2 separate regions of the Homo sapiens genome follow, and region 1 is linked to region 2. Evidence: promoter capture Hi-C in 16 types of primary human blood cells and fetal thymus (Javierre and others, 2016). All regions are on one chromosome and are shown on one strand. Each heading gives the region's core, a stretch centred on a gene start or on the middle of the fragment in contact. The rest is flanking DNA. Distances are from core to core; before and after follow the strand shown.

Region 1 (4,909 bases), core at 691-3,190, 550 kb after region 2:
TCCCACCTCAGTCTCTAGAGTAGCTGAGACTACAGGCGTGCACCACCACACCCAGCTAATGTTTCAAATTTTTGCAGAAGCGAGGTCTCACTGTGTTGCCTAGGCTTATCTCAAACTCCTGGGCTCAAACAATCCTCCTGCTTCGGCTTGCCTCCCAAAGTGCTGGGATTATAGGCTTGAGCCACCATGCTAGGCCCATAATAACTTCTAACCATTAAACTCATGTAACCAAAAAAAGTAAAAAATTCATTCAATATTATTGAGAACCTACTATTAACCAGATGTTGTGCTAGGTTGACCTATGCTGCTTTAATCCAGTGCTCTCCTCACTAAATACCCTTAGGTAAAGAAATATCTCTGCATGTCAAAAATCTGTGGGTAGAGAAAAAATGGGGGTGGGGGGCAAAATATAAACAGCAGGAGCTTGGTTAAAATGTAACAATTTATAGTGACTAAGAATTCCATGAAAATGCATTTATTGGCATAAAAAGACACTGAAGATAAGTGGGAAAAAAGGTTGCATAGAATATAAGAGCCTGATTCCTTTAAAAAAATACATAATAAATATGTGCTTATATACACATAAACCAAAAAAGCCTGAAAGAATGAATGCTAAATTGTTTACGACATTATTTCTCTGTGATAAAATTATGGATGAGGTTTTCTTCTTTTTGGTAATTCTATTTTCTAGCTTTTCTTTAACTTAAAATACAAATAATTCAAAAATCAAAAAAGAAGACGTTGGGGTATACTTATAGTTCCGTAAACAATAAGCTTTTAAAAATACTAATAGGCTAAAGAGATTAACCAAATCATTGGTAAATTTGTATGCACTTAAGAATAAGATTGTTAGCTTGTTAATACAGATGTTTCTCAACTTACAAGTAACTTAAAAATATAATTAGTGGAAAATGTCTTTAATATACCCAAGTTACTGAATATCATAGCCTAACCTAGCTTAAACATGCTTGAAAAACTTTTAGTATTCGATAAGTTACATAAGATATGCAACACTATCATAAAATAGGCTTTCTGTTAGATGATTTTGCCCACTTGTAGGCTAATATAACTGTTCTGAGCATGTAGGCAGGCTAAGCTAAGTTATGATGTTTGGAAGGTTAGATGTATTAAACGCATTTTTTGACAGGATATTTTCAACTTACAGTGAGTGTATCAGGATGTAGCCCCATTTTAAGTCAAAGAGCATCTGTATTTGAAAAATAAATTCAACACTAAGAAATTTTTCAGAGGATCAAGGTCAGTGGTTCTTAGAACTTTAAAAGAACTTTGGAACCACACCAGAAATATAATCTGTATCTCTGCCACAAGCACAATGCCCTACCAAAGCAAAATACCAAAGCTTATTTTCTAACTAATGGATATTCTAGCAGGGGACCAGTTTTCTATGCTTTCCATATTTTTATAAAATTAAGAATGTAAAATGGTTATGAAAGCAAGTTTCCCAATGTTATTAGTACAGGTTACCAATGTCATGCTATGTTTGAGAACATATCAGGAATGTTCTAGAAACGTTTCCTATGATGAGTGGGCAGTATGACAAAATGACTGGTTAAAATTTTTCACTTAAGATTATTTTAAAGTATATATGAATCCATATATTCATGAACAACCAACCTTCAGAGAAAAAAATAAAAACCTGTTCCAATTATACCCTCTAGTCAAGAATGCTTCAGGATAATGCTAAACACAATTACAAGATGCCATCTAGTGGATGTTTTTATAAAATTTCTCTGCTTGCTTACATTTAAATCTTGATGAAATGATCTTTTAAAAAGCTATTCTGCATGAAAAAACACCTATCCCTTACACCGCTTTCTCACCAATTACTGGTCTGAGCTGGTGGACAACATATTTTAAACACACACAACTCTGACTGGTAATATTGATTTTAAATCTCAAGTTGAATATCTGCCACTACCACAAAGAATAAGGAACAGCCCAGTTATCTCCTAAGTGGTCCAGGACCTATAATGGCTGCATAACACAAGTTAGAAAGGAGATTCAATTTAACATGCTTTTATCATTCACTTCAGATGATGATGATAAAAGATTAGCATCATTATATCAGGACAGTAATTACTGTTACTGCTGCCCTACATTTTATGAAAACAAACTCACTTGTTCTAAATAAGCTATGTCTGATATTTAGAAATCAGTATAGTGTTTCCAGCAAAGCTGTGAAAGTGGTACCATGTCCCTACATGTACACAGCTGTAAAGGCTCCTTTTACCATCAGGGTGGCAGTAACACAAGTTATGATCAATTAAATGGTATTAATGAAACCAATTAATGTAGCATAAATACATAAGGCAAAATGGAAGACTGATATCCAACCAAATGTTTATTTATAGTATTAGTCTATGATAATTCAGATACAATTTATAATTAAACTTAATCAGATGAAATCCACATCTATCTAAATTACCTTAGTTATAGACTCATTGTTTTGTTTTCTTTTGATCTTTGGAAGCAGATTCTATAATTTTTTTTAAAAGCTTCTAATTTTCTAGATATTTTCAGATTCCCACATTGTAAAACAGAAATTATCAATTTATTTGGAGGGCATTCCTACTGTGTGATAATAAAAAGTTTTTATTTTAAAAAGTTTTCTGTAGCCTATCATAACTGGCTTCCCTAGGAAAATTCTCCATTTGTCACTGCTATTTCTGGTGTCATATTTAATTTATAGGATAGTTTAAAGAGCTACTCTTCTAAAAATGAAACCCTTCAATATAGACTTGATAGGGACTGCAAATCCAGCCCCTGGAGATCATCTTGTCCCCCAATTCACAGATGACAATAAAAAGACCCACAGGAGTTAAAGGTTAGCTCAAGTTCACCAAACCAATTAGTGGCAGAGTTAAGCTCTGGGTCTCTTGACCACAAAATCAGAACTCTTTCCGCTATATCATACTGCCTTTTTATTCTTCCCCAAATAGTAACAGAATGTCTCCTTTAAAAGCTTCTTAAGGTACTATAGTTTCATTTTTGATCTAAAAGGTCCATGAGGGAACTGCTGCCTAAGTGTATCAGACACAAACGACGGTATTAAAACTGAGCTCCTCCATGATCATGAGAAGAGAGGGGCAAAGCAGCTTCTGTAGAGCAATCCAGATCAGTGGTTTTGACAAGGGGACTGAGAGACAACAGAACAGACTCATCAGTTATTGAAGTGAGAATCTGTGTTGTTTACTAAGAGGGCACAAGGAGCTGCTTCTGCTTCCCATCAGCACAGTCCTTAAACTAGCTGAGGCTGAGGGAGCACGATTTCCTCCGCAGGTGCTCAAAACATGATGGCCAAAAAACAGAAGTTCACAAACTAACCCTCAGTATCTGAGAAGAAAAGCTCTGATTTCCGTCAAAACTGCCATCTTTTGCCTCTCATCATATCACAGAGTAAGGACAGATACACTATACATTCTTTCAGCTCTGAACCCTTTCCAGTCTCCAGGGTCTGAAACTTTAATCTGGATCTTCCTATCAGATTAATGGCAGTTGACACCATTTATGGTATAGTTAAAATGTCCTTTCTTTCTTCTGCAACTTATTTCTTACAATTCATAAACCATATTCTGACATAATAAATGCACACATAAATGGAAGTCTGAAAACTTGGACTCTGTAAGCAGGAGCATGCCTTAGCTAAATCATCTAACCTGTCAATCTCAGGTTCCCTCTTTCGTGTCTGGAGATGGCTGGCCCCTACATTCTAAATTACTCTAAGCCTGTTACTTCTTAAAAACACTCTGCAACAAATTCAACACAATAGAACTTACCAGGCCTTGCCCTAACACTACCTCTTAGCAAAGGCTTTAACAGAAGTCTGAGGAGTGTAGTGATAGGACCAAATCTAAAAGGAGTTCTTTGTAAGATCACATGTGAATTGCTTTTGAGAAAGTCTCTTTAGATGTCTTACTTTGGCTCCTCTTCTATACAAACTGCTGTGGGAGCCTAAGAAAAGCAGCTTTCAAACATGCAAGTACACAGATTTGGTACTGCTGCCGCCAGGCTGCAACCGCTGCCAGGGGAAAGAAGTGAGTCAAAGCAATTCTACGCATCGCACGCCTCAATGTCTTCCCTTCACTTGGCAACAATACACTGGGATCAGTCATCCAGCTAAATGTCCAGAGTCCCAAAGTCATTACTAGCGCAAGGGTTTCTAGTCTAAAACTTCCAAGGTGATATAAAAGTTTAAAATCAGTACAAAGGAGGTCTTTTTATGTTACTACTAAACGCCTGGAATAATCTGTGAAAAATTAGAAGGGTAGTGAGACAATGACTTAGGAATCCTACAATGTGTGTGTTAGAACTTTCAGACACACCTTTCTGGCTCGAAGGCGTTACGGTACTTACTAAAAGAATCAAGAAGAATCAAAAGGCAGTTTTTGGTATTAGTTACATAGTCAGAATTTCCAAAGATATTTACATGTGAATGCCTAATTTTCAGGCTCCTCTGACATGTATTTCCAATTTTTAAGGGACTACAGATGATTTACTGACACGTTCTTTTCCCTTGAAAAATGTATCATCACAAGTGTTATTAATGGTTTGCGTCAAATTCTATCATATATGTTTGAATGCATTTTTTTTCTAAAGAGAGTGATTAATTTTACATTTTGTGGCCATACCACTTGTAAAGAACAGTTCACATCTGTCCACCAACATAAATAAAATACTTGAAGACTGTCACGAGGACAGTGCCTCTTTTGTCAAACTGCTCTATGCGTGTTTTACATGAAACAAGACTTCCAAATGTGGAAAAGGTATGTGTTTATACATGAAGAAATGTATTTCTAACAAGTGGGCTTCTTTATTTTAAAAATAGTTCTACATGTAGTATTTTATGATAATTTTCAAGAGTTTACAGTAGTCAAATGTTATCCAGAAT
Region 2 (4,254 bases), core at 1,167-3,666:
ATAAAAGTCAAAGTCAGAAGGCCAGCTATTAATAGTGGCGAATACAGTAAAACCAGGGATGAAATTGAGATTTTACAGGAAGAATGAACATGGCTCATTCTCTTCAAGCTCTAACTCCTTAGTCAACAAATAAACTAGTCCTGCAAACCAAAACAACAAAAAAAAACCTGATACAACTGTATTCCCCAAAGTTTCCAAGTGGCTGAAACAGCTAGAAGAGGATTTGAGTGCATTTTCACACACACGAAGAAAACTATCAAGGAAAAGATCTTTTGATGTGTTACAAACTATTACAGGTAAACAAGGAATCAGCAAAAATAATCCCTGGGCTTTACAAAACAATGAAATTTCAGTGTTCTTTCTAAAACTTTTTATTGGGGAAACATGCAGTATTGAACAGTTAGCTTTTTTGTTCTCTTTGTGCCACAATTACTGGAAATACTTTATATTTTTGGGTTTTTTTCTTCTTCACAATTAAGGGGGGAAATTATTCTGTATACTGCTTTCAGGCCAGGCTGTGTCAGTATTTTACCTGGGAAGGAAATGGCTAAGACCCTGGGAGTCGTTTTGTTTCCCCCAAGTTAAAATACATACGTTGCTGGAGGATTTATCAGCTAAAAAGCAACGTTTGACTATTTCATACTGTGTTACGTAACTTCCTGAAAATGTCAGAACATCTTAAGTAGGCAGCATGCCTGGCAGGAACATCTCCCTCCCTGAGTGTAATAAATTTACTTCCAAAGTCTGAGAGCTTTTTCAGAGTCATGTAAAAAGCCCCAGTTTGCTTGTTAGTTAACTTAGGACCCCAAAACATATCTAAGCTTTCATTTTTCAGTCTTATAAAGCCATACATCTATCTTACACTACTGTGACTGTTATACATACATATAACACCCCCAAGCTGCACATGTGGTGGTGGTTGGGGTATGGACTTATCGGGGAGAATCACTGTTTCAAAAAGGCAAAGACCAGGAAAGATCAATTTGGTAGTGGGGTAACATCAAATCCAATTTTCTCACTCAACTTTATTAAAAGCAGCTGGCTCATGACTTGTGGTAGGCAAGCAATGTTATTTATTTAAAAAGCAATTCTCAGTGGGCTGCCCTTCAGGTTATTCTCTACATAAGTCTGTAATTTTATGTACTTCCTTTCTTTAATGAAAAAATGGTATTTGCCCTTCTGACTTTTCACTTTGATAACCTTATTAGTATCAGAAACAAGTTAGCTGTAGACGGATTACAATGAAAAGTGTTCTCATTTTTTCTAATAAAAACAGGATATTGTAGATACATTTCAAATTTCAGTTGTCCAAAAATGTAGCCCTTCTATATTTTGTAGTGGCAGATACAAGAGATCAGAGAGCCCTTAAAAGTCACGTTATAAACATGAACATATGTTCAATCTCTTGTACTAAGTTTTCTTCCCAAAAACTGCCAGGCATCCACCACTTACCTCATTTTTTGCAACTGTTAAGAAAATTGCCTAATACAGAAGCCTTTTGAAAACTGTAAAGCTGGGCCATTTCTGTGGTCAGTTATGTACCTTTTCTTAAATTTTCTAGGTCAATAACTGCAGAATACAGTAGTAACACCCTATCTTTAGCCACCCTTAGAGCTTTAGGGCAGGGAAATTCCTTTTAAGACCATCTCTATTCTGTTGGATTTAACGAAGTACCCAAACACTTTATACTACATGTAATGGGTTTGAAACAGATTAAGCAGCAGGATGGAAGCTTAGTATTCTTGTTTTTGAAGTAAAACAAATCCTTCCAAATGCCTCCTTTTGTTCATTGTCTTCCTCATCCTTCCAACCACTTTCCTAGCACTGGAGTAACAGCCAGGCAACGTAATACAGTACTTCAAGCTTTACAATATACTGTTAAGTGCAGCATTGCCTAGTGAGAGAAAGATAAAATTAAAGAAAGAACGAGAGAAACCTCTCGTTGGAAAGTTCCTGCAGTAAAAGTGAAACCTATGGTATTGACTATCTTTACAACTATGAAAAACTTTTCAATTCTGAGAAAATAAAGGTATCAGTGAGCCAGTGCAGCCTTCAGTGCTACACGTCTTCACCTCCCTTTAATCTTTTTAACAGCTACTAGCTGACCCAGATGCCCGCTTAATTGCTTTTAGCAACCACCAGGTCCAACACACCTCAAGCCAGCTCAAGACTCACTAGGCAAGCGGAGCAGAAACGTAAGCCGGCTCCCTTCAGACTTTCAGCGAGGGAGAAGACGCAGCCGGCAGTGGGGCGCGAACGCCACGCCTCCATGAGGGGCGGGGCTGCTTCCCGACCACCATTTCCACAGAGGCAGGGCAAGAAGAGGGCCACAGGTGACGTCATTCAGGAAAGCCGCCCTGATTGGAGGGAAGGAGGCGGAGTCTAGTTTCCCTGGTGACGGATTGTCCGGTGGTCGCCTGGTAACCGGTCGTGGCTGTACTGGCGGCGGCAGGGCTGGCGGCTTAGGCCGCAGAGGTCTGTGGGCCTGAGCCCACGCTGGACTCTGTCCGTTCTGCGATGACTGCTGCTCTGGCCGTCGTCACGACGTCGGGTTTGGAAGATGGGGTGCCTAGGTCCCGTGGCGAAGGGACCGGGGAAGTGGTCTTGGAGCGGGGGCCCGGCGCGGCCTACCACATGTTCGTGGTGATGGAGGACTTGGTGGAGAAGCTGAAGCTGCTCCGCTACGAGGAGGAGTTCCTCCGGAAGAGCAACCTGAAGGCCCCGTCCAGGTGGGTGCCGGCGTCCCCGAGCGCCCGGGTGCCTGCTAGCCCCCAGGGAGATGCCCTCCTTGGTCCTGCTGGGAACCAGTTTCGTGAGAGCGGGTTAGCAATTCCTTGCCTCCGTCTTCCTAGCCAGGGAAGGGCACTTCACCCCAAACTCCCGGGAGGTCCGTGGAGCTCACGCAGCCCTGACTTGGTATTTTTGTAGAGAGAATAAATAAGTTTTGGAACGGCAGAAAGGATCGGAAGACAGCTTGCCTGTTTTTTTCCAACACACACGCATTACCAGAAAACACAAACTATATTTTCTGATTGTAAAGATGAAACAAATACTCATTGAAGAAAACTCAGAAAAACACAAGTAAATGTCTAGAAAAATTATAAGACCGTCCAAAATTCGCCTCCAGAGAGGAATGCCATTATCACTTAAGGCTTTTTTTCTAGTTTGGGGTTTTTTGTTGTTGTTTAAGACCCTGTTCATACAACTGGGGACCGTGGGTACTTAGGATCCTGTTAAGGAGCACTTTAAATGCGGTTAGTAAACTTGTTAACTACTTGCTATGGTTTAAAAGACTTCTGCCTTTGTAATAACCATACTCTCAGAAACTGAAAAGTGGAAAAGACGAATGACAACTATTGAATTGTCCCCCTATCATAGAACCTAAAGTTTTACCCTTGTTCCGGTGGGGGAAAAGTCCAACATATCCTGAAAGCAATGCCATTACTTGCTGAGGGTAGTGGTCAGCTAGGACCTTCTCCTCAAATCACTGTAGCTTAGCAGTAGCCAGATAAATCAGTTTTATAGCTTTTCTTTCACTTTAATACTTACATTTGTATATTTTATTCCATAAAAGGCAATCAGTATTAAGAATCTATAGTACTTAATGTCTACAGCCAGGCTCAAATAATTTCCCTTGATAGTTTTAATCTCATTCCACTGCTGTCTTCCAATAACTTGAATTGAAAGATATGTAGGCTTGATATAAACTGTTCATATTAAATTAGTCCATGGTCGGAGAAAAGATAAAGGAAAAAGTAGTGTTGCTTGATCCATGTTAGAAAAGGTAGTCCTGGGATTATTACTTAAAGTGAATTGATCAGGATAATATAGACAACCAACATTTCCTATGTTAATAAAAATGCATTTTTTTCCAAGTATATTTTTAAAATGAAAACAAAATGTCCTTAAGGTTCTGTTGATGTCATCTCTTGCACTGTGTCCTCAGGGGTTCAGCAGGATACTTTGAATCATGGATTTGTGTGGGGATATCCTAGTCCAATGGTTCTCAAAATGTGATCACCAGACCAACAGCATCAGCATCACCTGGGAACTTACTAGAAATGAAATTCCTCAGGCCCTTTCCCAGGTCTACCTTTTCAGTAATTATAGGGATGGGGCCTAGCATCTGTTTCAGTAAGCCTTCCAGATGATTCTGATGGACACTAATGTTTGGGAACCACTGTCCTAGGTTTACAGTATCTATTGGTGTTCATTCCTCTGCCCTAGAAGAGTTATCTGCCGATAAGGAAAAGA

What was found. The method cuts DNA at HindIII sites, captures the fragments that hold promoters and counts their contacts. A CHiCAGO score of 5 or more calls a contact.
Region 1: a contact is called between a fragment that was not itself captured here and the fragment with the promoter of IFT57 in region 2, in 2 of 17 cell types (fetal thymus and M1 macrophages). The highest score is 6.0, in fetal thymus.

What each region holds. Positions count from the first base shown.
Region 1 is chr3:107,673,725-107,678,633 of GRCh38, reverse strand. All of the region lies in intron 3 of BBX (BBX high mobility group box domain containing), which reads right to left. Among named protein-coding and RNA genes, the nearest start is that of BBX, 150 kb to the right of the region's middle. The HindIII fragment of the contact is 1,156 bases long and covers 1,363-2,518 here.
Region 2 is chr3:108,220,586-108,224,839 of GRCh38, reverse strand. It overlaps IFT57 (intraflagellar transport 57), which reads left to right and starts at 2,416. Exons shown (of 11, transcript NM_018010.4): 1 at 2,416-2,729. The coding sequence starts at 2,518. LOC124909405 (a long non-coding RNA gene) reads right to left here and starts at 2,235. Exons shown (of 2, transcript XR_007095999.1): 1 at 2,154-2,235; 2 at 356-1,894. RefSeq lists a silencer at 2,209-2,502 and an enhancer at 2,438-2,697. The HindIII fragment of the contact is 9,168 bases long and covers 1,866-4,254 here.